Linked DNA regions of Homo sapiens: all the other regions are linked to region 3. The links are contacts of gene promoters, found by promoter capture Hi-C in human tissues and cell types (Jung and others, 2019). All regions are on one chromosome and are shown on one strand. Each heading gives the region's core, a stretch centred on a gene start or on the middle of the fragment in contact. The rest is flanking DNA. Distances are from core to core; before and after follow the strand shown. Region 1 holds the start of SPINT4 (serine peptidase inhibitor, Kunitz type 4). Region 2 holds the start of SYS1 (SYS1 golgi trafficking protein). Region 3 overlaps LOC107987282 (a long non-coding RNA gene).

The links. The method cuts DNA at HindIII sites, captures the fragments that hold promoters and counts their contacts. A contact is called where the count stands out against the background at its distance.
Region 1: a contact is called between the fragment with the promoter of SPINT4 here and a fragment that was not itself captured in region 3, in 1 of the 25 tissues and cell types used here (liver).
Region 2: the fragment with the promoter of SYS1 here is called in contact with a fragment that was not itself captured in region 3 in 3 of the 25 tissues and cell types used here (aorta, pancreas and thymus).

What each region holds. Positions count from the first base shown.
Region 1 is chr20:45,719,748-45,723,971 of GRCh38, reverse strand. It overlaps SPINT4 (serine peptidase inhibitor, Kunitz type 4), which reads right to left and starts at 1,625. Exons shown (of 3, transcript NM_178455.3): 1 at 1,490-1,625; 2 at 1-92. The coding sequence starts at 1,604. The HindIII fragment of the contact is 7,531 bases long and covers 1-4,224 here.
Region 2 is chr20:45,361,604-45,365,321 of GRCh38, reverse strand. It overlaps SYS1 (SYS1 golgi trafficking protein), which reads right to left and starts at 2,166. Exons shown (of 4, transcript NM_033542.4): 1 at 2,007-2,166; 2 at 1,629-1,793. The coding sequence starts at 1,790. SYS1-DBNDD2 (SYS1-DBNDD2 readthrough (NMD candidate)) reads right to left here and starts at 2,153. Exons shown (of 6, transcript NR_003189.2): 1 at 2,007-2,153; 2 at 1,629-1,793. It overlaps LOC124904914 (a long non-coding RNA gene), which reads left to right and starts at 1,954. Exons shown (of 2, transcript XR_007067609.1): 1 at 1,954-2,254; 2 at 2,496-2,966. RefSeq lists an enhancer at 1,997-2,436. The HindIII fragment of the contact is 13,954 bases long and covers 1-3,718 here.
Region 3 is chr20:45,488,799-45,492,788 of GRCh38, reverse strand. All of the region lies in intron 1 of LOC107987282 (a long non-coding RNA gene), which reads right to left. It also overlaps the pseudogene RPL5P2. Among named protein-coding and RNA genes, the nearest start is that of WFDC2, 21 kb to the right of the region's middle. The HindIII fragment of the contact is 6,084 bases long and covers 1-3,990 here.

The DNA.
Region 1 (4,224 bases), core at 376-2,875, 230 kb before region 3:
AAAAGTTTCACATCTTTTGGAGGTTCTGTTGTAGAAATATCTAAAGTGAACTTCATAGCAGCTTCCAAAATTCATGTCCAATTTGCAGGGATCTGCATGAGAGGTTCCCATTGAGTTAGTGGGAATTGGTAAGGACTCAGCAGGAGAACTTGTCTTTATGGGCCCTTAAAAATTCCTACGTTTAGCCTGGAACTATTCTCATATTCAAGGACTCTGAAAGATGTGGTTTTCTCTTGGAGTTAGAGTTGCTTGGAAATGTTGCCCTTGCACAATGCAAATTGGTTAAAATTCCAGGTTGTTGTCGTGAGCAGTGTATTGGAGAAGGAGAAGTAGTGATCAGTGAAAAAGGAGGTTCCACCACTAGCTTGTGCAGGGCGATGAGCTTCCCTACATTTCCTATCTTACAGTTTATTAAAGTACAGTATCCTCCTGCTTCCCCACATCATCTTCCTTTCCTTTTAATTGCCCACATAGGACATGCAATTCAGAGTGCCTCCTCCCCAGTTTCATACATTCACTATACTACCTATACTTCAAAATTTAAGTAACCATGGCTGCTGCTATCTTTAAAGCAGGATGCATACTAAAATGCTAAAATGCATAACCTTGGGGTGATGCTCGTTCATCCTCATACCCCGTCATCTTCTCCTTTCTTGCCTTCTCAGAGGCAAACCCTCTGTTTTTATTGTTAAGAGTTGGGTAGTAAGTGGTTGGAACAGCCACAATCATGGTTGTATTGACAATCCACCTTACTCAAGCAGCCAGCCTGGAATTTACTCTCTGGTAAAGTTATGTGCATAATCTTATTTCATACTCACAAACACCCTCTGCAGCAGGCACTTTTCTGATCTTCATTTTACACATGGGGAAACTGAGACTAAGAGAATAATAAGTGGTTGAGTGACTTGTCCAAGGGCACATATCTGCTAAGTGAACAGGTCCAGAACTTGAAGTGTCTGACTTACGGTATAAACTGTGCTACTTTCTCGTCCCCTGGAAGCGCTGAGCCTTCACACACTATCTATGGAAGAAAGTCTCATTGCCTCTCACATTTACATTGTGAGCTCCTCTAAACAGGAATCATCTGTCCAAGAGTTCTGTATATGTCCATAGCCCAGATACTGAAAATGTCTTAATTTGCTCTGTCTCCAACCCCCTTTCTCTCTCATCCCAATACATAATCATCAATGGTCTGGGATCTTTGAAATTTGTCACACAACCTCTGATTCAAAATACTTCCAGTCCTTTGGACCTCCTATAAAAGAGGTCTCCATCTGGAAAGGACTTTGTGTCATTTCTGTTTTTTCTCATCAAACATCCAGAGGACCCCTAGTGTAAGTAATGCCCTGAGTCAAGGGACTAAGTGTCTATGGGTATTGTCATGAAAGGAAGACCTTCCTGGACTACCTAGATAACACACTTTTCTCCCAATACCTTCTCTCTCATTCATAATTGACCTTTGGATTTATTTTCTGCCTTAGCTTCATACCTTTGAGGTCTCCACATATCTTCTCCGCAATTTTATTAACACCACCCAATAACAGGGTATTCAATGAGCAGAAGATGAAGAATCTTAGAAGAAATCCCAGCTTGGCAGACTTCATGGTGCAGCAAGCAGCAGGCAGGATAGTTGTGGTATCACCTGATGTTATATTTTGGGCTTGATACTTGAGACGGTTGAGCTCACCTACCCCAAGGGCCAGGACTGGACATTACTAGGTGTTGAGTTGAACAGTGAGTGCTTGGGTACCCAGCCATGAAGCTGAAGGCCCCAAACTGATTAGACCCTTGATAGTGAGTCCCATGTTCATCTAGAAGCAATAGAAACTTAAGGATCAGAGCTTCTGCATATATTTAATCATGAAGGGTAGAATCATCAGAGTGAGGAATTAAAAAGGGATTTCTTCCTTTCTCTTTTTGACCTTTTATGCACAGAAGAAACTAATCATGGCACAAGAGAAAGAGTGCAATAGCACTATAATAATAGTAACAGGGTTAGTTATAACCTAGAGTACTACTTAATTCCAGGTGCTATTTTTAAGTAATTTGTATATACTTTATCATCATATACACCCTATGAAGTAAGTACAGTTATTACCATCATTTAAGGATGAAATGGAGACAGAGATTAGGTTACATGTACAAGGTCACTCATTTATTATGTGGTAGAGACAAGATTTGAACTTGGCTTCAGAGTTTTTGTTCTTAGTCACACTACACTATGTTATCTAGGAACATGAGGACATCTTGGATCTGTTTTCTCCTAAAAGTTTTGAAGTTTTGGCTTACCTTTACACCCTAAAACCACCTGATGTTGATTTTTTGGTAAGGTATAACATAAGGATCCTTTTTCATTTTTCAGTGGTTCCAGACCTATTTATTAATGAGTTCCTCTTCTATTTAACTGCAAAATAATTTTGCTTAATTATGTGGGATTGCTTCTGAGCCCTTTATTTCACTCCACTGTATACCCCCACTCCAAAGCCACACTTAATCTCTTGAACTTTGTTTATCTTAGGATTTTGTATTTTCATATAAATTTTAGTCAGTTTATCAAGTTATTCAAAAGACCTGTTTCGGGCCAGGCGTGGTGGCTCATGCCTGTAATCCCAGCACTTTGGGAGGCTGAGGTGGGTGAATCCCATGAGGTCAGGAGTTGGAGACCAGCCTGGTCAACATGGCAAAACCCCGTCTCTACTAAAAATACAAAAATTAGCTGGTTATGGTGGTGAGTTCCTGTAATCTCAGCTACTTGGGAGGCTGCGGCATGAGAATTGCTTGAACTGGGAGGCAGAGGTTGTAGTGAGCTGAGACTGTGCCATTGCACTCCAGCCTGGGTGACAGAGCAAGACTCTGACCGAAAACGAAAACAAAAACAAAAACAAAAACAAAACACCTATTTTGGATATTCATTTGAATTGCACTGGATCTACAAATCAATTGGAAAAGAATGATATCCTTATAATATTGTCTTTGATATATATATTTCCATCTATTTTGACCTTCATTAATATTTTAAAGAAAGGTTTATGACATTTCTCATGCAGGTGTTACAATCTTATTTATATTTTTAATATTATTGTAAATGCTATCTTTTAAAAAAATCTTCAACTTTTATTTTAATTTCAGCGGTACATGTGCAGGATGTGCAGGTTTGTTACATACATAAACCATGTGTGCCATGGTGATTTGCTGCACAGATCATCCCTACACCTAGGTATTAAGCCCAGCATTCACCAGGTATTCTTCTTGATGTTCTCCCTCTCCCTACCACCCCCATGATATGCTCCAGTGTGTGTTGTTCCACTTATGTGTCCATGTGTTCTCATCATTCAGCTACCACTTGTAAGTGAGAACATGCAGTGTTTGGTTTTCTGCTCCTGTGTTAGTTTGCTGAGGATAACTGCTTCGAGCTCCATCCATATCCCTGCAAAGGACATGATCTCATTTCTTTTTATGGCTGCATAGAATTCCATGGTGTGTGTGTGTATATATATATATTTCAGTATCACATTTTCTTTATCCAGTCTATCATTGATGGGCATTTGGATTGATTCATGTCTTTGCTATTGTGAATAGTGCTGCAATGAACATATGCATGCATGTGTCTTTATAATAGAATGATTTATGTTCCTTTGGGTATATACCCAGTAATGGGATTATTGGGTCAGATGGTATTTCTGCCTCTAGATCTTTGAGGAATCTCCACACTGTTTTCCACAATAGTTGAACTAATTTACACGCCCACTAACAGTGTAAAAGTGTTCCTTTTTCTCTACAACCTCTCCAGCATCTGTGTTTTTTGTTTTTTTTTTTACTTTTTAATAATCACCATTCTGACTGGTATGAGATGGTATCTCATTGTGGTTTTGATTTTCGTTTCTCTAATGATCAGCGATGTTGAGCCTTGTTTCATATGTTTGTTGGCCACATATATGTCTTCTTTTGAGAAGTGCCTGTTCAAGTCCTTTGCCCACTTTTTAATGGGATTGTTTGTTTTTTTCTTATAAATTTGTTTAAGTTTCTTGTAGACTCTGGATACTAGAACTTTGTCAGACGGATAGATTGCAAAAATATACTCCATTTCTGTAGGTTGTCTGTTCACTCTGATGATAGTTTCTTTTGCTGTGCAGAAGCTCTTTAGTTTAATTAGATCCCATTTGTCAATTTTTGCTTTTGTTGCAATTGCTTTGGTGTTTTCATCATGAAATCTTTGCCCATGCC
Region 2 (3,718 bases), core at 917-3,416, 130 kb after region 3:
GTTCAGCTGACTATGGCTCCATAGGCCTGGCATCTGCTCCTGTACATAAGGTTTTATTGAAACACAGCCACACCTATTCACTTATATATTTGTCTATAGCAGCCTTCTGTGCTACAATGGCAGAGCTGAATAATTGTGACCTAAAATCCTTACTACTTCACCCTTAAAGGAAAGGTTTGCTGATCCCTAGGCTAGAACTCAGGTTGTGTGCATCATATGGCTCTTCAACAAAGCCTGGCATTCCCACAGCTCTTCCCAGGAGCATAGAGTCTCCTACGAGACTACAACTAGGCATATGGTGGGTGTGCAACCTCCACTATCCAACACAATACTATCAAATGCCAAACATCTGCACCACACTTTCAGCTGACAAAGAAAGGTCTTTGACATACATAATCTCATATTATCCCTAAAAAAACCTCACAAAGCCATTCTTCTTCTTTTAATTCTTATCACTTTTTGGATAATAACTTGCCCAAGGGCTAACACAGAGAACAAGCAGCAGGAGCAAGGACTCCATCCCAGGTCTCCTGGCTTTAAGAACTGTGCTCGGCCGGGCGCGGTGGCTCACGCCTGTAATCCCAGCACTTTGGGAGGCCGAGGCAGGCGGATCACGAGGTCAGGAGATCGAGACCATCCCGGCTAAAACGGTGAAACCCCGTCTCTACTAAAAATACAAAAAATTAGCCGGGCGTAGTGGCGGGCGCCTGTAGTCCCAGCTACTTGGGAGGCTGAGGCAGGAGAATGGCGTGAACCCGGGAGGCGGAGCTTGCAGTGAGCCGAGATCCTGCCACTGCACTCCAGCCTGGGCGACAGAGGGAGACTCCGTCTCAAAAAAAAAAAAAAAAAAAAAAAAGAACTGTGCTCATCACCACGCCACAGCTGCCTCTTAGATGTAACAACTTATAGGCCTCCTTTACACTTTACAAAGTACCTTCTTATTCCTAAACCCCTCTGGGCCTTGTAACATTTTGTTGAGGGCAACATGGTAGGAGCATCCGGCCCACTTTTCAGAAAAGGCTCAGAAAGGGGAAGCAACTTGCCCAAGGTCCCACAGCTAGTTTTATATGTTTAGGCCTAGACTGAACCCTTGCTTTTCTGAACCCAAAGCACATGCTCTTTATATTGCAGTCCACGACCTCTCTGCAACTAGTCTCATGGTTTTGAAGACAGGAAAACAAGTTCACAGAGGTGACATTTGCCCCAGGTCACACAGCTAGTAAGTGGATCTTAAACGGACGCCTGTCTGACCCCAAAGTCCAGGCAGTTTCCACTGTACCCGCACGAATGCTCTTTTATCCACCCCTCTCTCCGATGTGGCACCTGAGAACCTAGCTCAGAGAAATCAAGTCACTTTCCCAGAGTATCAGAAAGGAAATGTATCAGAGTTGCCTGGAACACAGACGTGTTTATTGTATTAACATCCAGGCCCTTTTCTTTGTACTAATCAGCCTCTGCTGTCATTCCATTTTATGGATGAGGCAGCTGAGGCTCAGAAAGGTGAAATCCCTTTCCCAGGGCTACAAAGAAAGAAGGTGACCCAGCCACGTCTACAGCACAGTAGTGATGGACCACAAAGCCTACTCGGGGAGGCCGAGACCCCACCCGCCCCAGTCCGGGGACCCTACCTCGGCGTCGAACATCTGGTCCAGCGAGGGGCTGCTTCGCACTAGCCCGTCCACCAGCGCCAGCCACAGGCCCAGCGAGCCGTAATACACGGTCTGCATGAGGACGATCTGCGACAGGATCAGCAGCGGGTCCCACACGTAGCTGCGGAACTGACCCGCCATGCCCTGCAGGGACACGAGCCGGGCCTCAGCCAGCGGCCTGTCTCCATGGCAACGTCGCCCCGCCCGGGAGGAGGGACTGGAACCAAGGGGTGAGCCCATTCCAAGAGTCAGGGGGAAGGCGGGGCAGACAGACCCATTCTCAGAGTGAGGGGAAATCCAGCCCATTCCGCCTGCGCGGCCCCCGCCCGTACACGAGCTCCTCTGGGGTCTACTCACCAGTGACAGACTCGACGATCGAAGTGTCTGAGCGTGGCCCGGCCTCACCGGCGGGCTCCCAAAACAGCGCTGACAGACAGGACCATGGAGGAGAGGCGCTGCCGGCCTAGAGAGGCAAAGCTCCAGCGACCACGGCGGCAGGAGCGGCTGCGTAGGAAAGAAACGTTTCCGGGGAAAGCAGCGGAGGGGCGGGGCTGAGGTTGCGCAGGCGTAGTGGGTGCAACCTCTGCCTGAACCTCCTGAACCAGGTACAAGCAGCCGGATAGCGAACTGAGCACATGCGCAGAAGGAAGAGTGAAGGCAAACGGAAGAGAGGAACGAAGGCCGCAGAGCTTGCGCGCCCTCTAGAGGGGAATTCTTTTTTTAAAGGAAGGCGGCTAGGGGAGAGGCAAGTGGGGTGGCTTAGGACGCGGTAATGATGTTTGGGAATTAACGAGGTGATAAACTGTGTCGTTATTTTCAGCCTAAATTCTCAATGTTTTCTCCTAGTTAGAGTCTGATAACTTGAAGTGGACCTGCAAGCTCCTCCACGTAGGAGTTTGCCAATGTTCCCGCTGTACAGATAGTTAAGCTAAGGGCCAGAGAAGGAAAGCAACATACTGTTTCAACGACACAGTTAGTAGCAAAGTAAGTATTAAAATTCAAGTGTTGGTCGGGCGCGGTGGCTCACGCCTGTAATCCCAGCACTTTGGGAGGCTGAGGTGGGCGGATTACCTGAGGTCGGTGTTTCGAGACCAGCCTGACCAACATGGAGAAACCCCGTCTCTGCTAAAAATACAAAATTAGCGGGGCGTGGTGGCGCACGCCTGTAGTCCTAGCTACTCGGGAGGCTGAGCCAGGAGAATTGCTTGAACCCGGGAGGCAGAGGTTGCAGTGAGCCGAGATCACGCCATTGCACTCCAGCCTGGGCAACAAGAGCAAAACTCCGTCTCTAAATAAATAAATAAATAAATAAATAAATAAATAAAATTCAAGTGTTTCCTCAACACTACAACATTGATTTCGCACCTACTCGGTGGCAGGAAGGCTAGAACATGTATATATAAGACAGCCCCTGCCCTGAGACACAGATGAACTATATTAGAAGGCAGAGTAGTGGGTGTTTTAAAATGTGGGTGTCCAGTGGAAAAAGGCACAGGTTCTGAAGTCGCACATAGGAGTAAATCCTGACCCTCTCTGCTGCCATGACTGTTTTATCTATCTTCCAAATCCGAATAGTGGACAGTCAGTAAATATTTGCTGAATGAGTTAAGAACAGAAAAAGCAAGAGCAAATCGATAACTCACTTATTCCTACTCCAGCAGACGAAAACCCATCAACTTCATTGATCCTAGGTTCCCCCTCTCTGAAGTGGAAAGACGGGAAGTAAGTTGTTCCAGGAAAAGAATTTGGGTTTTAGGGCCAGCTATGCCACCCAGTGTGACCAGCAAGCCACTTCCTTCTTTAAACCTCAGCTTCCCTGTTTATGAAATGAGGAGTTGGACATGATTAACGTTTTCCACCATTTAATCTACCTTCCAGTAATTATTTTCTCATTAAAAAAAAAACTTAGGCTGGGCACAGTGGCTCATGCCTGTAATCCCAGCACTTTGGGAGGCTGAGGCGGGCAGATCACAAGGTCAGGAGTTCAAGACCATCCTGGCTAACATGGTGAAACCCCATCTCTATTAAAAATACAGAAAATTAGCCGGGCCTGGTGGCAGGCGCATGTA
Region 3 (3,990 bases), core at 270-2,769:
CTCTCTGACTTCAACTCACCTCAGGCTCCTGACCACTCATTCACCCCAGCCATGCCAGCCTCCTGGATGATCCCCAACACCCTGAGAACACTCTGACCTCAGGTCCTTTGTTCTGGAACTCTCTTCTCTCTAAATTCCTCTTCTCATGGGTTGTCACGCAGCTCATGTCCTCCTTCACTGAGTTCACTACTTGAATAATACTTTAAGACCTTCCCTGACTACTTTGCAAAGTAATCACCCCCATCTCTACCCCACCCCCAGACTCACTATTCCTCTTACCTGTGTATTTCTCCATAACTTTTCCTCCACCTAACATGTTATATATGTGTTAGTTCATTTATTTATTGGCTATCCTCTCCACCGCACACACACACACACACACACACACACACACACTCTTTTCCTTCTATCAAATCCCCACCACCTAGAATAGAACACATAGTAAGTGCTTTATAAATATTGAATGAGTGAATGCCTCTGCTGATGTTGTTTCTGGGGCAGGACCTTCCCCTCCCTGACTGGTCTGTCTTTAGAACTTTATTTTCTAAGCTCCAGCTCACTCATGTAACTTCTTACTATCGCTCCAACCCCAAACCTGCACTTTCCTGCAGAGAAGATGTCTGTTTCCATGTAGGTATTACCATACATGGCTTCCTGGGCTGGGGATGGCCTTTAGAGGCATCTGCAAAGCAGTTTGCCATCGGAAATGGGAGAAAATAAGTGCGGGAAGAAGCCCTGCCCTGACGTCTGGAGGGGCAGCTGGGCTGAGTGGTTCTGTGAGGGGCCTTGAGGTTGGCTGTCCCATCTCGATCCACCTGTTTACTGGGATTCCTGGGCCCTGGGAGCTGTTCTCCTGGCCAAAACTAAGCTTTGCTGTGGTCTGCCTATATCAAGTGTGGCCCATCAAGGCCTGGAAGAGGGGGAAGAGACCAGTCTGGGACCCTGTCCTTTTTCCTTCCCCCTTTCCAATCACAAATCTTCAGAGTCCCCAACCTACAGCATTCACTTGGCTGCAAAAGTTGATCAAAGAATGATCGTAGGGCTTCCGCCTTGCCTGGCCCCCCTTGCACGCTGCAGGTCTGTGTCAAGCCATGGACACAGCTCTCTGTTCCGGAGGATGGAGTGTGTTAAAATTGTTAAGAGTAAGGCCTACTTTAAGAGATACAGATGACATTTAGAAGACCAGTGGGTTAAACTGATTACTATGCTCAGACACACTTGGTAATCCAGGATGAAAATAAGTAGAACACACCAAAATTCAGGATAGTTCATGCAACTAACAGAGAGATCATTTGTCATATGGTTTTTGCCCACACAGAAGGGAATATGATTGTCTGCACAGCATATGTTCATGAATGTCTAAAGTGTAGCATGAAGGTTGGCCAGCCAGATTATGATGCAGCACATTGTACTGGCCTGTGCTGACCCGAAGGCCCCTCAATAGTCTTGGCATGGACAACACCTATGAAGGTCAAGTGGAGGTGAGCAGAGATGGGTATCACATGGGAAGCATTGATGGTTACTTGGTGCCTTCACTTGCTACTTGCCAGAACTACCAACGGAAATAAAGGTAGGGGGGCCCTGAAGGGAGGTGTGGATTGAGGTTTTCTATCCCTCACAGTTACCAAACAATTCCCTGGTTCCAATTCAGAAAGCAGGGAGTTCAATGCAGAAGCACATCCTGGGTCAGAAGATCGCAGATTATATGCATTACCCAATGTAAGAAGATGAAGATGTTTACAAGAAACAATTTTCTCAATACATAAAGAACAACATAACTCCAGTCATGACGGAGAGACATGTAAGAAAGCTCATGATGCTGAACAAGAGAATCCAGTTCACGAGAGGAAGCCTGGGGAAGAAGTTAAGAAAAGGTGGAACCATCCCAAGACGTCCCCTGTCCAGAAGAAAGACTGAGTAGCTCAGAAGGCAAGTTTTCTAAGAGCTCAGGAGCAGGCTGCTGAGCGCTAAGCCAAACAACTATTTTCTTGTCTTTTCTTTTTCCTTTTTCTTTTTTTTTTTCAGAGACAGAGTCTCGCTCTGTCACCCAAGTCAGAGTGCAGTGGCACAATCATAGCTCACTGTAGCCTCCAACTCCTGGGCTCAAGCAATCCTCCCCCACTTGGCCTTCCAAGTACTTAGGAATATAGGCACGTTCCACCACGTCTGGCAAATAGTCATTTTCTATAAGATTATTCAGATAAAAACAATAAACTTATTGACCAAGCAGCTTAAAAAAGAAAATTAAAGGAAGGGTCTCAGCCAGAGGTTCTGCCTCGTCTAACCCACCCCTGCTTTCTTACCTGCCCCATCCCACCTCTCAGTCCTCCTTCCCTGGTAGCTTCTTCCTGTGCATTACTGAGATCCCTGGCAACTTCCACCTCATCTTCTGCAGGAGGCCTCTGGGCTAGGGACCCCTTGAAAAAGCTTTACCCCCTCTTAAGCTTCTGGTGGAGGGCCTGAGGTCCCATCTCCTTTGGACCCCTGCTCAGGGTCCCCTGTGCAGTCTTCTTACTCAGTAAAACCTCAACTGCCAGGTCTGACTTTTCACCATTAGCATTTTATTTCTTGAGTTAAATCAGGGGTAGCAAATCTATCTATCAACCCCAATCAATGGGCAGCTGTAGCAGCTGCCTGGAGCCCTGTGCTGAGGGCTCTGTGGCCACACATGGGCTAATGGAAAGGAGCAGCAATCATGTGATATGGGTGCTGGTGGAAGAAATGATGGCATGTGGACACCTTTGCCATCCCTGGGTTAGACATCACCCTGCCTGGGCCACTCTTTCAGAATGCAAACCTGTAGAAGGACAGGAGAAAGTGGAGCTAGTGGTAGTCACACACCGAGTTCCCAGCAACTCTTCCCAACCCATCACTGGATGCCTCTGTTTCTGCCTAAAAGGTTGGGGAGCCCCGAGCATGGACAAAAATAGAAATCAGAAAGTGGGGAGCTGGGAAAATCTACACTGCCATCTCTGGCCAAGGGGCTATCATATGCACAAAGCATCCCCACTCCCACCAGGAGGCTCTATCAGTTTGTGCCCCTGGGAGTGAATGGAGATGCCCTGGGGCCTTGTCTGGTCCCTGGTCCCTGGTCCCACAAGAAGATGAGGAAGATAAAGCCTGATAGACACCAAGCCAGGCTGGCCAGATATTCCAGACAATGTCACTGAAACTTTCCAGATCTCTCATGTTCCACGGTGGGTAGAGAAGGGAAGGACATGAAGGCTGTTCCTGGGGGGCCAGAGTCACTGACATTACTCCCTTATTCTCCTTCTCCCTCACCCCAAAGGATAAGCATACACCCCAGGATTAAAGTAAGAAATCATTGTGTCAGAGGCCTTCCAACCAGAGTGACTCCATCTTGAATAGGGGCTGGATAAAATAAGGGTGAGACCTGCTTGGCTACATTCCCAGAGGGTTAGGCATTCTTAGTCACAGGATGAGATAGGAGGTTGGCACAAGATACAGGTCACAGACCCTGCTAATAAATCAGGATGTGGTAAAGAACCCAGCCGAAACCCACTGAAACCAAGATGGCAATGAAAGTGACCTCTGGTCATCCTCAATGCTTATTCTATGCTAATCATAATGCATTAGCATGCTAAAAGACACTCCTATCAGTGCCATGACAATTTACAAACACCATGGCAACACTCAGAAGTTATCCTATATAGACTAAAAAGGGGAGGGATCCTCAGTTCTGGGAAATCTCTTCCCCTCTCCATGAAAACTCATGAATAATCCACCCGTTTTAGCATATAATCAAGAAATAACCATAAAAATCTTGAACCAGCAACCCTTGGGGCTGCTCTGCCCATGGAGTAGCCACTCTTTTTCCCTTTCCTTTACTTTCTTAATAAACTTGCTTTCTCACTTTACTCTACGGACTTGCTTTGATTTCTTTCTTGTGTGAGATCTGAGAACCCTCTCTTGGGGTCTGGATCCGGACTCCTTTCTGGTAACATCTTCCTGGCCACCATGAAGCGACTA